6 separate regions of the Homo sapiens genome follow, and regions 1, 2, 3, 4 and 5 are each linked to region 6. Evidence: promoter capture Hi-C in human tissues and cell types (Jung and others, 2019). All regions are on one chromosome and are shown on one strand. The core of a region is centred on a gene start or on the middle of the fragment in contact, and the rest is flanking DNA. Distances in the headings are between cores, read along the strand shown.

Region 1 (2,962 bases), core at 106-2,605, 290 kb before region 6:
ATGTGTTGGACTTTCTTTTAGATCCCACATAAAAGTAAAATTGTACAGTATTTTTCTTTCTGTGTCTGGCTTATTTCATGTAATGTCCTTTAAGTTTATCCATGTTGTAGAAAATGGCAAGATTTCCTTTTTTAAGGCTGAATAATATTTTGTATCATTATATATATAATGAAATATTGTTACAAATTGAAAACATCTTATATTGAAACAAATTATATGTATATATTATACACACACATATATATATAATTGTGGTGGAGATATATCTCCACCACAATTAATTTATCCATCCTCCCCAACCACTGATGGACACTTAAGTTGTTTTTATTTCTTGGCTATTATGAATAAGGCTGCAATGAATGTGAGACTGCAGATATCTCTACGAGGGGTTGACTTTATTTATTTCTGGGTTCATACCTAGAAGAGGGATTGCTGGATCATATGGTAGTTCTATTTTTAATTTTTTGAGAAACTTCCATACTGTTTTCCATAATAGTTGTACCAATTTACATTTGCACCAACAGTGTATTGAGTCCTCTTGGTGCCATTGTTTAAAGTTAGTTTGACCATATATGCTTGCATTTATCTCTAGGCTCACTATTCTGTTCCATTGGTCTATGTCTCTGCTTTCATGCCAGTACCATACTGCTTTGATCATTATAGCTTTGTTTGCATATAACTCTTTTTTATTTTTATTATTTATTATTTTTTTTATTTTACTTTAAGTTCTGGGATACATGTGCTGAACATGCAGGTTTGTTACGTAGGTATACATGTGCCATGGTAGTTTGCTGCACCTATCAACACGTCATCTAGGTTTTAAGCTCCACATGCATTAGGTATCTGTCCTAATGCTCTCCCTCCCCTTGCCTTGCACCCCACAACAGGCCCCAATGTGTGATGTTCCCCTCCCTGTGTCCATGTGTTCTCATTGTTCAACTCCCACTTATGAGTGAAGACGTGGTATTTGGTCTCCTGTTCCTGAGTTAGTTTGCTGAGAATGATGGTTTCCAGCTTCGTCCATGTTCCTGCAAAGGACATGAATTCATTCTTTTTTATGGCTGCATAGTATTCTATGGTGTGTATGTATGCCACATTGTCTTTATCCAGTCTATCATTGATGGGCATTTGGGTTGGTTCCAAGTTTTTGCTATTATAAATAGTGCTGCAATAAATATACGTGTGCATGTGTCTTTATAGCAGAGTGATTTGTATTCCTTTGGGTATATACCCACTAATGGTATTTCTGGTCCTATATCCTTGAGGAATTGCCACACTGTCTTCCATAATGGTTGAACTAATTTACACTCCACCAACAGTGTAAAAGCATTCCTATTTCTCCACATCCTCGACAGCATCTGCTGTTTTCTGACTTTTTAATGATCGCCATTCTGACTGGCATGAGATGGTTTCTCATATGGTTTTGATTTGCATTTCTCTAATAACCAGTGATGAGCTTTTTTTCACGTTTTTTGGCCACATAAGTGTCTTCTGTTGAGAAGTGTCTGTTCATATCCTTTGCTCACTTTTTAATAGCGTTGTTTTTTATTTTTATTTTTGAGATGGAGTTTTGCTATTATTGCCCGGACTGCAGTGCAATGGCACAATCTCAGCTCACCGCAACCTCCACCTCCTGGGTTCAGGTGATTCTCCTGCCTCAGCATCCCAAGTAGCTGGGATTACAGGCATGTGCCACCACGCCTGGCTAATTTTGTATTTTTAGTAGAGATGAGGTTTCACCATGTTGGCCAGGCTGGTCTCGAACTCCCAACCTCAGGTGATCCACCCGCCTCAGCCTCCCAAAGGGCTGGGATCACAGGTGTGAGCCACCAGTCCTGCCTGTTGTTTGCTTTTTTCTTGTAAATTTGTTTAAGTTCCTTGTAGATTCTGGATATTAGACCTTCATCAGATGGGTAGATTGCAAAAATGTTCCCTCCTTCTGTACATTTCCTGTTCACTCTGATGACAGTTTCTTTTGCTGTGCAGAATCTTTAGTTTAATTGGATCCAATTTGTCAATGTTGGCTTTTGTTGCAATTGCTTTTGGTGTTTTAGTCATGAAGTCTTTGCTCGTGCCTATGTTCCTGAGTGGTATTGCTTAGGTTTTCTTCTAGGGTTTTTATGGTTTTAGATTTTAAGTCTTTAATCCATCTTGAGTTAATTTTTGTATAAGGTGTAAGGAAGGGGTCCCAGTTTCAGTTTTCTGCATATGGTTAGCCAGTTTTCCCAACACCATTTATTAAATAGGGAATCCTTTCACCATTGCTTGTTTTTGTCAGGTTTGTCAAAGATCAGATGGTAGTAGACGTGTGGTGTTATTTCTGAGGCCACTGTTCTGTTCCATTGGTCTATATATCTGTTTTGATACCAGTACCATGCTCTTTTGGTTACTGTAGCCTTGTAGTATAGTTTGAAGTCAGGTAGCACGATGCCTCCAGCTTTGTTCTTTTTGCTTAGGATTGTCTTGGTTATGCAGGCTCCTTTTTGGTTCCATATGAAATTTAAAATAGTTTTTCTAATTCTGTTAAGAAAGTCAATGGTAGCTTGATGGGAATAACATTGAATCTACAAATTACTTTGTGCAGTATGGCCATTTTCACGATATTGATTTTTCCTATCCATGAGCATGGAATTTCATTCCATTTGTTTGTGTCCTCTCTTATTTCCCTGAGCGGTGGTTTGTAGTTCTCCTTGAAGAGGTCCTTCACATCCCTTGTAAGTTATATTCCTAGGTATTTTATTTTCTTTGTAGCAATTGCGAGTGGGAGTTCACTCATGATTTGGCTCTATGCTTGTCTATTATTGCTGTGTAGGAGTGCTTGCGATTTTTGCAAATTCATTTTGAATCCTGAGACTTTGCTGAAGTTGCTTATCAGCTTAAGAAGTTTTTGGGCTCACACAATGGGGTTTTCTAAATATAATCATGTCATCTGCAAACAGAGACAATTTGACTTCCTCTCTTC
Region 2 (2,791 bases), core at 34-2,533, 340 kb before region 6:
CAGAGCTACTCAAGGCAAAACAGATCATCTCAATGTTTCTGTTTCCTGAAGGCTTAGTATTACCTAGGACGTAGTAATTCCTCAGTATTGAACCAATCACTTTCTAAGATGCATTATTATTATTTTTACAGTAGTTTAACTTTAAATTATAAGCAATTTGAGGATATTATCATTATTATTTATTTCCTACATGACTTTGTGCAGTTGCATTAGTTAATAAAATAGTCATGTGGTAATTAACAATTGATTGGTTTCATTGGGATATTCACAATTCATCATGCTAGTGTTTAAAGATCCTTTTGGAAAAAAGGTCTCATTCCCAACATGATCCTACCCCTTTTTCTGGTTTAGATGTAAGAACAGCTAAAATCTGTAAAATTGTTATGCTAAATTCTAGCCGGTTTTTGCTGAAGTTAGACTTGGGCTATTAGCACAATTATTATTTTGTCATTCTTGAGTTGATTAACTAATAGAGAATTCATTCAAAATGTGACAGTCACAACTGACAGAATAAGAGAAAATAAATATCTGACAAGGAAATTTTATTCAAAACATATAAAGACTCTTAAAACTCAACAATAGAAAGATAAATAACCCAACTGTAAAATGGACAAAGGCTCTGCATGGGCATTTCTCCAAAGAAAATACACAAATGCCGAACATTTACATGAAAATATGCTCAATATCATTAGCCATTAAGGAAATAAAAATGAAAATCACCTAACACCTAAGATACCATACTCACTAGGTCTGGCTATAATCAAAAGATACAAAAAGGACAAAAAATAAAAAGTGTTGATGAGGATATGGAGAAATTGGAAACCTCATTTACCTCTGGTGGGAATGCAAAATTGTGTAGCCAATTGGAAAACAGTGTGACAGTTTCTTAAGTGTTAAACCCAGAGTTACTATATGACCCAACAATCTTACTATGAAGTATATACTCAAGATAAATTTAAAAATATGCCCACTCAAAAACTCATGCACGCATGTTTGTAACAACATTATTCACAATAGCCAAAAAGTAGAAACAATCCAAATATCCACCAACTAATCAATAGATATGTAAAATGTGATCTATCCATACAACATAATATTATTTGATAATAAAAAGGAATGAATACTGATATATGCTACAACATGGAAGGACCTTGACAGCATTATGCTAAGTGAAAGAAGCCAGTTACAGAAGACCACATATGGTATGATTCCACTTGTATGAAATGTGCAGAATAGGCAAAGCTCTACAGACAGAAAGTAAATTAGCAGTAACCCAGAGCGAGGGCAAGTTGGGAGAAAATGGAGATTGACTGCTAATGGGTATGAGGTTTCCTTTTGTGGTTATAATTGATATAATTGTTGCACAAATCTGGAAACATGCTAAAAACATTGAATTGTGCACTTTAAATGGGGTGGATTGTATGGTATTTCAATATCGTGGTAAAGGTGTTTAAAATTTTTGAGAAAATAATTGTGAAGGTAATATCTATGAATCTCTCTAATATCTTTAAAGAATAATTTTCTAACAAGATAACTTTCCAAAGTTTAAAGTTCATGGAATATTTTTTAGAAAAATCTTTAATAGAATGAGATTGTAATACTGCTCTGTTTACTCACTTATTAAATAAGAGGATTAGCTGGATGAACTTCAATATCCTCTGATCCCTGATAACTAAGCAGAATTATGCTTCGTGAGTCTTCTTTATCTAAACAGATCTTCAAAATCTGTTTGGCTCATTCAATGTTTTATGTGTCCAGATAAAATTTTTACTTAGTGCCCCTTAGTACTATCTCATATTAACATCCATAACAACCTTATGATGGAAATACTATTATTATTCCTATTTTACATATGAGGAAACTGAGGCCTATAGAGGTTATGTTGCCTCAAGTGCCCTGTAAGTTGAAAACCTGGGAATCAAATCCAGGCATTCATGAGAGCTTATAATCTGAACCATTCTGTTTAAAGCCTTCCTGCATAAACATGCTAGGCTATTTACATATGAAATATCTTGGCTATCCTAAACGGTTTTTTAAAATTGTAAATAGGAGCACTTAGCGATCTCGGTCATGCTCAGATGTTTCTACTTCACTGTGTAATTTCTTTTTTTCTGAATAATCAGATTTTTAGAGGTTATGGGGACTGATTTTAAAGTAGAAGGTGTTTATTAAACTTCATTCAGGGAACTTAGTAGAATCCTGATTTATTTACACACTGGAAAGTTTCTTATCATGCACCAAATAAGGTCACTGCAAATGTTGGAGTATTTCCATTGTACTCATCCTCTGACTCCCACTCTCAGTTTTACTGAACTATTAAAAAACTTGAGGACAAGCTGTTTCCAGAAATGAACCTTTCAACTCCTCTAAATTAAAAAGCTGACTTTTCTGAGAACAAACAGTATGTGCTTATTAAGTGAGTTGTCAGAGTGAGTACTTGAGAGATCTATATTTTTCCTCCTTTGAACAATCTATTTTTTTAAATGGTTTAACCTCTTGACAACTGGTGTGCTCCATTTCCAGCTTGGGGAGTTTTTAATATTGCTATTTACTTAATCTGTCCAAAGGTTCACCATCTCCTTTTACTTTAATTTTAGCAAGAGGCATGATGAAATTTAATTTACCTAGGATGGGCCATACAGTGTTAATATTTCTACTACTGAGTGCCAGCAGAGAGCTCCCTGGGTACTGATAACTTCCATTAGAGAAGGGGGTGCTGTCAGGAAAACAGAGACCAAGGGCTAAGGTCTGTGGTTCCTGGCAGATGGTTGCTATTTTCCTGAACCCTCAT
Region 3 (2,952 bases), core at 153-2,652, 400 kb after region 6:
AAATTGAACTTTTTCTTACATAGGCAAATAGAGTATGAGGTTTTGTTTCAATATCTGCAATAGCTGGATCTAATGTATGCTAATTCCAAACTTACCAAAACTAGCGTTGCAAGTAAGGAGAAAAATCTGTTTCTTCAGATTTTCACAATTCAAAATATGAATGAAGATGGGGAATCTAACAAGTGCCATAAAAAACATTAGAATATATTAACTATGTATTTGATATTTAAAGTTGTTTTATACTTTACTTTTTTTTTTTCTTTGAGACGGAGTTTCACTCTTGTTGCCCAGGCTGGCATGATCTCAGCTCACGCAACGTCCACCTCCCGGGTTCAAGCAGTTCTCCTGCCTCAGTCTCCCAAGTAGTTGAGATTACAGGTGCCCACCACCACCACGCCTGGCTAATTTTTTGTATTTTTAGTAGAGAAGGGGTTTCGCCACGTTGGCCAGGCTGGTCTCAAACTCCTGACCTCAGGTGATCCGCCCACCTCGGCGTCCCAAAGTGCTGGGATTACCACCACCCCTGGCCAAAAACTGTTTTATACTTTCTATAATAATATAACCAAATTTTGATTACTAGAGCTATATAATTCTTTAGAACACTTTGTGGGCATTATATTTCTTTTCCATATTTATAACAAGAGTTTTGGACTGTTAATATGTGATTCCTTACATTGATAAAGCACTTTATGCTAATTCATTAGTTACAAAACAACTACGAACTATGATCTCAGCTTTCAAGGAGTTTGTAGTGTAGAGATAAATATGCAGTATATTAAAACAGGGAGATGGTTTGGGGAACATAGACTTATTTAGTGCTAGGCACTTCAGCATAGCATTAAACTCCTATAATCCTCACAATAGCCTTTTTGTTGTTGTTGTCTCTTTCGTTTTCAAGTTGGTGTGCCAGGACTACCAGCCTCAGTAGACTTTGTTGTGGAATTCTTTTATTTTTAGCCCCAGGACCACTGCTTAGGGCCAGGTTTGCTCAATATCCTCCTTGTATTTCCTGTGATGCCCAGCATCTAGTCAGCCTCTAAAGAAGTGGTATCTGTGATGATGATGATGCTGGCTCCTAGTTATTTAAGGAGTTAATCAAGATGGGGAAAGAATAGTCCCCACAACTCAAGTGGTTGCATTTTAAGAACACTTTCTGGATTTGTCAAGGGACTTTTTCTTCCCTAATCTGGATAGACCCCTTCGTTTCTTCTTATTCTCAAAGCTGGCCTATATTTAGGAAGGGGGAGGAAGTGGTCAATACAAAAACACAAAAAGTATTGGAAGAGTTGAAGAGTCGATGACCTGGAGACAGGGCCTTACATAGGACCTGTCTGTCCTATACAGGATGGAATTTCTTTGAATTTGTTAGCAGATGCTCTTTTCTTGTGACTGTTTCATTTTTTTAAATAACAGATAAATATAAGATGAAATTAAGGGTGAAAAGTTATGTGTATATGTGTATGTGTAAGTTAGAGTTAATGGTGTAAAAAAATGGCACGGCATGGTGGCTCATGCCTGTAATCCTAGCACCTTGGGAGGCTGAGGCAGGCGGATCACTTGAAGTCAGGAGTTTGAGACCAACCTGGCTAACATGGTAAAACCCTGTCTCTACTAAAAATACAAAAATTAGCCGGGTGTGGTGGCGGGCTCCTGTAGTCCCAGCTACTCGGGAGGCTGAGGCAGGAGAATCGCTTGAACCCAGGAGGGAGAGGTTGCAGTGGGCCGAGATCACGCCACTGCACTCCAGCCTGGGTGACAGAGTAAGACTCTGTCTCAAAAAAAAAAAAAAAAGAAGATGCTAGTTTGAGTCATAAGAATTCAGAGGAGGAAGAGGCAGCCTAGGCTGGGCTGCCCTGGAACGACTTGAAGAGGTGGGAGTTGAGCTAGGCCTGAGGGTATAGATGGGATTCACTTTCAGATGAGTTGATAAGACTGGGAGGATACATTCATGGGGCTGGGAACACGTATAATATGTGAATATGTGTGATGAGTAATACTAACTAGGCTTGTTAGTGATGGTTCTGTAGAAAATGCTAGGATGATGGGAGGTGAGTCTAGGAATGCTGTTTGGAACCATACTGTGTCCGGTCTTTGAATGTCAGGCTGAGGTTTTTATTTTCCGGGCAAGCCTTTGCAGATGTTTTTTAGTATAGCGTTAATTATGCAACATGAAGGTTTTAGGGAGATTTCAATACAGGCAGCATGGATTGGACAGGAGCAAAGTGGGAATCAAGGAGACCATTTCTGAGTCTGTTGCCATAATTGGGTAGTTACTTGAACTAAGTTTGTGGCAGCGGGAATGGAAAGGAAAGGCCATTGATCAAAGATGTTAAAGACGAGCTGACAGGCCTTAGGAGTCTTGCTGAGCAAGGAGGTTGACAGAAAAAAAGAGGTCAAAAGCTCCTCAAAGCCTTTGTGTCTGAGTGTCTACAAGAATGATGATGAGACCCTTGACCGGAATAAAGGAGTAGGTGTGGGAGGGGGAGCCCCAGGTGGACATATTAATGGTGGTTTGGTTTTTGAGCTGCTTGAGAGGACATAGCATTTCAGGTGGCTAAAATCCGACTTTCACAAAGGACTCCTGACATTATCTTTTTACTCCCCTCAAAAAGCAAACACAACCCACTCCCCTATCCTATCTCAGCTACCTAAATGACTATCTAGCTATTTATAGATTCAGGCTGGGAATTTCATATTCATCCATCTAATTATTCATTCAACAAATGCTTATTGAATATTTACTGTGTGCCAAGTGCTTTAAGCTTTATGAATGAAACAGACATGGACACTACTCTTAAGAACTTTATAGTTGAATTAGTGGGGGAGCCAGTAATAAAATAATCATGCAAATATGTAAGATAGACTGTGATAAATGCTATGAAGAATATCTAATGTTTTGACTACGTATATTGAAAGGCCTTAGCCCGTTGTGGGGGTTGCTGGGAGAGGCAT
Region 4 (2,899 bases), core at 331-2,830, 480 kb before region 6:
TGTTTTGTTTTTCTTTTCAGAATGGAACCCTAGACTTTATGAAATCACATTTCCAGAGGTCCATCTATGACCACTGTTTCTTGGCTCTTTACCAAACCATGTGGAGAGCTGTAGGAATCTCGAAGATGTGAATCTGTTTATTTAAATTAATCTAATGATTAGTAGCATTAATATTCAATAGATGACTTGTTTATTTTCATATTCTCTGGGGAAAGTTATTTATAAACATATATATTTTATTATAATTTTTTAATATCAAGTTTTTGTAATATTTGTAATATTCTCATTTTGGACCTGCACCTAAAAATAGTCAGTTTGGGCTGGGCGTGGTAGCTCACACCTGTAATCCGAGCACTTTGGGAGGCCAAGGCAGGTGGATCATGAGGTCAAGAGATTGAGACTATCTTGGCAAACATGGTGAAACCCAGTCTGTACTAAAAGTGCAAAAATTAGCTGGGCATGGTGGCATGTGCCTGTAGTTCCAGCTACTCCAGCTACTCGGGAGGCCGAGGCAAGAGAATTGCTTGAACCCGGGAGGCAGAGGTTGGAGTGAGCCAAGATTGCACCATTGAACTCCAGCCTAGGTGACAGAGTGAGACTCTGTCTCAAAATAATAATAATAATAATAATTTCTTAATTTAAAAAATTTAAATTTTCACTTAAAAATTTAAAAAAAGAAAGAGGCCTGGGCTCAGTGGCTCAGGCCGGGCGCAGTGGCTCACCCCTGTAATCCCAGCACTTTGGGAGGCTGAGACGGGCAGATCACCTGAGGTTGGGAGTTTGAGACCAGCCTGACCAACATGGTGAAACCCCGTCTGTACTAAAAGTACAAAATTAGTCGGGCACATGCCTGACCAGCTACTTGGGAGGCTGAGGCAGGAGAATCACTTGAACTCAGGAAGTGGAGATTGCGGTGAGCTGAGATCGCACCGTTGCACTCCAGCCTGGGCAATGAGTGAAACTCCGTCTCAAAAATAAATAAATAAATAAATAAATAAATAAATAAATAAACAAACAAACAAACAAATAAATGAAAGAAAAAAAGAAATAGTTTGAGTCTATTCTGATTCTATTTTCTATAAGTAACTTTTTAAGAACAATAATTACTTGAATTTATGGCTACTGTAGGAGTTAATACAGTTTTGATCTAATTCTATAACAAAAGTACCCAAAATGCAGCCGTGTAAACAAGACAAAATTTCTCTCACTTGTGTTTTTACTTTCTTTCTTTTATATCTAAGATGACACTGAGAACCTATAATACAGCTTTGCCATGTTCAGCGCAAGGTTTCCTCACTATCTCCCAACTGGTTGATGGTGTGTGTGTTGAGGGCGAGGGAGCAGACAGGAGAGCGCACAGATAATTCTTTTAAGAACACAACTAGAATAATCAGGCATCGTTCCTCTCCATATTTCACTGACTGCAACCAGTAAGGTGCCCACATCTAGTTGAAAGAAAGGCTTGAAAAGATGGCCTTTGGCTAGTTAGCCATCATCAGGAAAGAAGACGGTAAAAAATACTGTGGAACAACTTGCAGTCAATTACCCAAATATCCAGGTATACAAGAAGAGGAAAAGCACAGCTGTCATTTTTCAAGGCAATGATCAAATACCACTGGACAAGATTTTTGACCTCTTCTGCTATGGCAGTGAAATAATTTCCATGATTATCGAGGAAGAATTATGTTATCTTGGAGGAATTTATTGTCCCTTATTACTTATGGTTCCTATTTTCATTTCTCTATGAGATTATTTGTCCATTACTGCTATAGTAACCAAAACATTGTTTTGGTGTAATGTAAGTATTCAATAAATGAATTATCTATTCTAAATATGTATCCATTTTATTCTCAGAAGTATTTAATTACCCTGTAATTATTTTGTAAGAAAGAACTAGAAAATATTCTCTCTTTGGAGCTGCGCATATTTTGTGATGTATATGCTGCAAAACCAGTAGTGGGGCATGGGAGATACTTTAAGTCAAACACAGATTGGCTTCTGCAGGTCAATGCAATTCTCTGAAAACCTTAGTCTGCTTTTGATCTAGTTGCTTCCAGTCAGATCCATGGGCAAATTATCATACCCAAAGACCTAACCCAGGCAGTGTTGCTATGCACGCAGACTATCTTCTTTTATTTACTGGTTTCTTTGCTTAGCACATTCTGCTCTCCTTCGGTTTATGGGTGTCTACTTTGAAGCTACCTGAAAATATTAGTTTAGGCAGGAAAGCATCACTCTCAGCCTAACCTTCGAAACTATAAAGAACTTCAATTAACTGAGAGGTTTTAATGTGGGCACTTGAAAAAGTCAGAGGCCTATTTACTGCCGGCCCTCCTTTTTTAGAGTCACCTCTAGCCCGAGTACGTATTGTCACAGAACTTTGCACAAGAATCTTCCTCAGCAGTTCACAGAGGTTACGTGTTCTTCTGGCAAGTAATCTCCCTTTTTAAGGATTGCAAATGACAGTTTTATGAAATGCTTTATCATAAAGTAATGAGAATTACTAACTTTCTAGCCTGCAATATCTGTGTTCTCTCCCACTCTCAATCCTTAGACCAAAGCTTCATTTTTTTTATTATGCTAGAGTACACTTCTAGTAACCAAGTCATGTTTCATTTAAGATTAGATGTCATTAAAACATAGAAAGAGACCCTAAAACACAGCATTTTATACTAGATAAAAATTTATGTCTCACTAAATATCAAGTGGTAGGTTACTTGTTGTTGGCAGGACAACTCTTCCGTTCTCAATATGTCACTTCTGTCTCTGGATTCAGGGAAACAGCTTTTGCCATGCCTGACACAACTATCAGAAAGAGGGAAAGGTTCCAGAATATTGCATGCTTTAATCTTTAAGGACAAAGCCTTAAGTACCAAATATGTTCTGTTTAAATTCCATG
Region 5 (2,880 bases), core at 54-2,553, 310 kb before region 6:
GTGCAATATTAGTTATAAACCATAAAATTCAAAGGCTAATGTATACTCATTCTGTTGAAAATTTCTAGAGCACTAAACTTTTCCCAAAGCATAAATTTGAAATATTATTAGTGAAGAAATAAGACTGATTCATAAGATGCCAGAATGTCTATAGCAACACCTGAGGATATTAGCATTTCAGTTTCCCCATAGTTTCTGCCAGAACTTAGCTTCTGTACATCAACCCCACTATTCCTTCACACACCGAATTAAGATTGTCAAAAGATGCTATTCCTGAGAAGGCTTGTCAGTTGGACAGTTGCTAGTGGAGACTAACGAATGCTAAAGGTGAAGTAGAAGAAGTTCAAGGACCTGGATTAGCTTGTGAATTTCCAGTCATCAGCCCAGGCTGGGTATATGACTGGAGCAGCTGTACCACATTCTCTACAACACCACGATATATGGAAGGGTATTATACCTACCATTTCCTGTACTTTAAATATCTTTAATGTTGCCATTCTCCAATTCCATATGGCATGTCCAACGTTCAGGGTGTCTATAGTATGATTGGAAATGGGTCCTGATGAATATGAAGAGATGGAAGAGAAAGATGAGGGGGAGGAGAAAAAATGATAATGATGATGCTGATGATGATTCAGCAGATATGGATGAATCAGAAGAAGATGAGGAGAAAGAGAGAGTAGAGTCTTTGATGTTCCCATTTGTAGATGCCACTGCTCGTGCCTTTTTTAGCAAGCCTTCTGCTGATGGAAGCATTGGGATGATTCTAGTCTGCTAAATAGATTTCTCAATAATGTAAATAACTAAATTATTCTCAGCATATAGCAGGAAAACCAGAATGAAATATTGTTCCAGGCCCTGTGTTCTGTATGACATTACATTAGGAATTGGATTGTTTTGGTTTGTTTTGTGTTTTTGAAGTAAAGAAGGAAATGGGTTGCTTTTTTTCTCTAGCTAAAGGACAGACATTTCTTTTTTTTTTTTTTTTTTTTTTTTGAGTCGGAGTCTCACTTTGTCACCAGGCTGGAGTGCAGTGGTGCAATCTCAGCTCACTGCAACCTCCAACTCTCTGGTTCAAGCGATTCTTCTGCCTCAGCCTCCCGAGTAGCTGGGACTACAGGCACACACCACCACGCCTGGCTAATTTTTGTATTTTTGGTAGAGACAGGGTTTCACCACATTGGCCAGGATTGTCTTCATCTCTTGACCTCATGATCTGCCTGCCTTGGCCTCCCAAAGTGCTGGGATTACAGGTGTGAGACACCAAGCCCAGCTGACATTTCTTCCTTTTAAAATATTTTATACTTAAAAACATAGAGAAATGGAGAGAGAATTGTTTTGAATAAGGATTTAAAGTGTAGCAGAAATACCTACACAAGGGTAGATAAATACCATGTGACTGAATGATTCTGTGAAAAGATTTCCTGAAGTTAAGAGTTATTTATAAATGAAATAAAATTTCTAATTAGGCCAATCCATGTAGTGATTTCTTATATTTTGTACTCACAGAGAACTAATTGGATAAATAACTTGAATGCTAGTGGTTTGTCCTTTCTTACACAATATATCCTTGGATTTAAAGTCTTTGTCATCAAGACCTTGACTTTGAATTTTTCATCACTACAACCTTGAATTTAATTTCAAGTCTTCAACATGATGACCTTGAATTTAAAGTCTTCAACACTATGACCTTTATCATATTATTCATAGATGCATCATTTTTGAAATGTAGTATGTAAAAGTATTTATGGGTTGTTTATTAACAAAAAAAATTCTTTGCGATGTCTCATGTGGTTTAAAATTACTATTTCTGTTTTGTTTCTCCTTTATACACTTGACTATCTAACTTTGTGATAAGTGACATGAATTTTATGTTAGGATTAAGTGTGTTTTCCTGAAACATTGATTTTTTTTTGTGATTATATAATTGAGAGTTAAGAATAAAATCCTTCTAATGTTAAAAACTCACTTATTAAAAACAAATTTTGGTTCCAATCCTGTTTTCAAAAAACGATTTATCCTATTATCACCTACACTTGATTCTATTGAACATAATATTCTTTGCATACTGTTCTTCCTACTTTCCTTTGTATTGTTAACCTTGTTGATTCAATTTTAATTTCATAGGACAAAGTTTTAACAATTATAAGTTTCAATGACCTAAGGATAAAATTAGATCTATGTTTTACTCTCCTGAATGTATGACAGGCATCATTTAGTTGCTTTGATTGATAGTTAAGACCACTAAATAACAGGAAAACAGCAAGTCAATATCATTTTGGAGTGTCATATTTTTCTGCTTCAAGAAATGTTACTCATAATGAGATCACTCTTCTCATGAAAATCACTCAAGAAGATGTAGCAAAGAAGATACACAGGAACTTGGTCGGAGACTGTTTGATTTGATGCTTATTTTCATTTTAAATGCCTAATTTAAAAAGCAGAACAATTCCTCTAGCATGTTATTATAATAAAACATAAGATACATTGACTGGCATGAGGCCCTTCCATGAATAGACTCTTATTAAAGCTCTGAATGAAGTCTTATTTTCTTCAGTTTTTCAGAAAGCTACTTTGGGGCAAAGGAAAGTTAAGTGGATACACTTTGTGGTGTTCTGCTGTCATATTAAATGTAAGACTCCATTAAACTCAATGTTTAATTCCCTTAAAACTTTACTGTTTTTTGCATGCATTATTAAAATGCACACATATTAAAAAAGTAACATAGCCAGATAACAATTTTTATTTTAATATTTGAACAAAAATATAAAAATATATAAAGTATAAAATATATAAAAGACAATGTTTTAGGCGGGCGTGGTGGCTCACGTCTGTAATCCCAGCACTTTGGGAGGCCAAGGCTGGTGGATCACCTGAGGT
Region 6 (2,700 bases), core at 99-2,598:
GATGAATTCCTAATATGCCACCGAACACAGTTTCTGCTACTTAGTGTTCAATAAATAGTAACCATGACTGATAAAGTTATTATTACTACATTAGTCCAATGCCCAGCTACACACACACTCAAGACAGTACCATCAAAAAGCATCAGAAATACCATGGTGAGTGTATATTTGGTATGAAAAACGAAAAAAATTTTTAAAAGCTTACTTATCATAGATAAACTACAAAAACTAGGACACTTCCATTTGAAAAACTAAGATCGAAATGAGATAATGACAATTATCACTAAAATTATAAAAGGTATAGGTAAAAATTGTGCAAAACTACTAAGTTTCAGATTGTTAGAACGAATTAATGAGATCTCCTTAAATTTAATAGTTATGACTTAATCCAGCAAAGCTCATGTTCTTGTAAGAAAAAGATACCAGAATGCAGGGAAAGTTAGAAAAGCTCAGAACAAACAGGGAAAAGCAGTTCAACTTAAATGAAGAGGACTTAAATTCAGAACTCCTCGAAAAGAATAACAGCATCAAGTAAAGAGGATAAGTAGGAGAAAGAAGAAGAGGAGCAGAAAGAAGCTCTCAATGGATATCTCATTTCCATAGTTTCATGACCTGTAGAGCCGTTTCTCCTCACTTAGAAGTCTTTCCCCAGTAGGTGCTGTCATGGGTTCCAAATACAATTAACTCTGCCCCTTTGCAGAAAATAATTTCTTGATACTCATCAGCTGTTACCACTTTTCTAGGGAGAAAGCAGAGAACACACAGTGGTTTTTTTTGCCTTCGTTCTTTGAAGCTAGCTCACACTTAACCATAGAAACAGTATGCAAGATGTGGTACCTGCACTACCCTGCCCTTGAAACTGTTTGGCTTCTTACGTTCTGACCACCTCCAAACCCACAATATTTGAAAACACAGCTTTCCCTGATGTCTGGCATTTTTCCATGAACTGCCATTGTATCTCCTTTTATTTTTTACTACTTTGTTTAAACCCCTCAAACCTTTCATCATAATATGCTTCCAGTGGGTTTGGGCAGCTACTCTGAGAGCCTGAGTATAAATCAACACCATTGTGATTCCTGAAGTTGCAAAGTGCTGTCACTCTTGAAACTTTGGGCTGCTTCTCTAGATCGTTGACAACATATAATGCACACAGAGACACACCACTTTCGAAGAAGACTGTTCAGGAGGCTAAGTTCTTAAAATCTTCAAAAGAGGTATAGCTGGTTGGCTGGGCACCACACTGTCAGGTGACTGTCATTTTTTCCTTTTGGTCTGAATTCCCATTGTGATATCATCAGAGGTTCCACACTTCACAAGGAAAGCTTCTTATGACCTCATCAGGAGGCTCAGACCTTGCCAGACTGCCTGCTTTCATGGATAGACATAAAAACCTTCAGCTTGAATGTTAACACCTTGATGGGAAAGGTGGCTCATGGAATGTTTTCTTATCCTTTGAACACTCCTCATTTCAGAAGCTTTGCTTCTGTTGCAACCAAACATGACACTTAGCGTGCTGAGCAGGAAGGACAAGGAAAGAGTAATTCGCAGACTGTTATTACAGGCCCCTCCAGGGGAATTTGTAAATGCCTTTGATGATCTCTGTCTGCTTATCCGTGATGAAAAACTTATGCACCACCAAGGTGAGTGTGCAGGCCACCAACACTGCCAAAAATATTCTGTACCACTCTGCATCGATGGAAATCCAGTACTCTTGTCTCACCACAATGTAATGGGCGACTACCGATTTTTTGACCATCAAAGCAAACTTTCTTTCAAATATGACCTGCTTCAAAATCAGCTGAAAGACATCCAAAGTCATGGTATCATTCAGAATGAGGCAGAATACCTGAGAGTTGTTCTTCTGTGCGCCTTAAAACTGTATGTGAATGACCACTATCCAAAAGGAAATTGCAACATGCTGAGAAAAACTGTCAAAAGTAAGGAGTACTTGATAGCTTGCATTGAAGATCACAACTATGAAACAGGAGAGTGCTGGAACGGACTTTGGAAATCTAAATGGATTTTCCAAGTTAACCCATTTCTAACCCAAGTAACGGGAAGAATATTTGTGCAAGCTCACTTCTTCAGGTGTGTCAACCTTCATATTGAAATATCCAAGGACCTGAAAGAAAGCTTGGAAATAGTTAACCAAGCTCAACTGGCTCTAAGTTTTGCAAGGCTTGTGGAAGAGCAAGAGAACAAATTTCAAGCTGCAGTCTTGGAAGAATTACAGGAGTTATCCAATGAAGCCCTGAGAAAAATTCTACGAAGGGATCTTCCAGTGACCCGCACTCTTATTGACTGGCACAGGATACTCTCTGACTTGAATCTGGTGATGTATCCTAAATTAGGATATGTCATTTATTCAAGAAGTGTGTTGTGCAACTGGATAATATAAAGAATTGCTCCTGGTAACTATCTTGATTTGACTTGTTTGTGTTTCTTGGGAATGGTTATTTTCCTAAAATTGAGCAATCTGTAGAGATGTCTCTCACTTAGCCAATGCAAATTTAAATGGGAAAAGTGTAGCAAGTAATTTTACTTGGGGAATATTTATGAACAAGGCAAGAAAGTGTAAAGTAACTGTGTTTCATGGTGGTGACCATCATAAAGACCAAGACATTTGTTAGAAACTAAAATAGTTTTATAGAATCTGGGATTCCAGAAATAGTATAGAGGTGGCCAGGGTTAAGGCTGTGT

What was found. Contacts are between HindIII fragments. The study calls those that stand out against the background at their distance.
Region 1: a fragment that was not itself captured here is called in contact with the fragment with the promoter of CAPZA3 in region 6 in 1 of the 25 tissues and cell types used here (spleen).
Region 2: a fragment that was not itself captured here is called in contact with the fragment with the promoter of CAPZA3 in region 6 in 2 of the 25 tissues and cell types used here (dorsolateral prefrontal cortex and mesenchymal stem cells).
Region 3: a contact is called between a fragment that was not itself captured here and the fragment with the promoter of CAPZA3 in region 6, in 1 of the 25 tissues and cell types used here (IMR-90 fibroblasts).
Region 4: a fragment that was not itself captured here is called in contact with the fragment with the promoter of CAPZA3 in region 6 in 1 of the 25 tissues and cell types used here (dorsolateral prefrontal cortex).
Region 5: a fragment that was not itself captured here is called in contact with the fragment with the promoter of CAPZA3 in region 6 in 1 of the 25 tissues and cell types used here (mesenchymal stem cells).

What each region holds. Positions count from the first base shown.
Region 1 is chr12:18,448,585-18,451,546 of GRCh38, forward strand. The region is part of intron 18 of PIK3C2G (phosphatidylinositol-4-phosphate 3-kinase catalytic subunit type 2 gamma); the gene reads left to right. Among named protein-coding and RNA genes, the nearest start is that of PIK3C2G, 190 kb to the left of the region's middle. The HindIII fragment of the contact is 6,030 bases long and covers 1-2,962 here.
Region 2 is chr12:18,401,086-18,403,876 of GRCh38, forward strand. The region is part of intron 16 of PIK3C2G (phosphatidylinositol-4-phosphate 3-kinase catalytic subunit type 2 gamma); the gene reads left to right. Among named protein-coding and RNA genes, the nearest start is that of PIK3C2G, 140 kb to the left of the region's middle. The HindIII fragment of the contact is 4,316 bases long and covers 1-2,791 here.
Region 3 is chr12:19,136,798-19,139,749 of GRCh38, forward strand. The region is part of intron 3 of PLEKHA5 (pleckstrin homology domain containing A5); the gene reads left to right. Among named protein-coding and RNA genes, the nearest start is that of PLEKHA5, 8.5 kb to the left of the region's middle. The HindIII fragment of the contact is 4,345 bases long and covers 1-2,952 here.
Region 4 is chr12:18,254,245-18,257,143 of GRCh38, forward strand. It overlaps a transcript of PIK3C2G not described here. Among named protein-coding and RNA genes, the nearest start is that of PIK3C2G, 5.8 kb to the right of the region's middle. The HindIII fragment of the contact is 4,949 bases long and covers 1-2,899 here.
Region 5 is chr12:18,424,415-18,427,294 of GRCh38, forward strand. The region is part of intron 18 of PIK3C2G (phosphatidylinositol-4-phosphate 3-kinase catalytic subunit type 2 gamma); the gene reads left to right. The region is part of intron 2 of LOC124902891 (a long non-coding RNA gene); the gene reads right to left. Among named protein-coding and RNA genes, the nearest start is that of PIK3C2G, 160 kb to the left of the region's middle. The HindIII fragment of the contact is 5,095 bases long and covers 1-2,880 here.
Region 6 is chr12:18,736,771-18,739,470 of GRCh38, forward strand. It overlaps CAPZA3 (capping actin protein of muscle Z-line subunit alpha 3), which reads left to right and starts at 1,349. Exons shown (of 1, transcript NM_033328.3): 1 at 1,349-2,418. The coding sequence starts at 1,499. The coding sequence ends at 2,398. PLCZ1 (phospholipase C zeta 1) reads right to left here and starts at 1,242. Exons shown (of 15, transcript NM_033123.4): 1 at 1,162-1,242; 2 at 591-739. The coding sequence starts at 601. The HindIII fragment of the contact is 1,043 bases long and covers 762-1,804 here.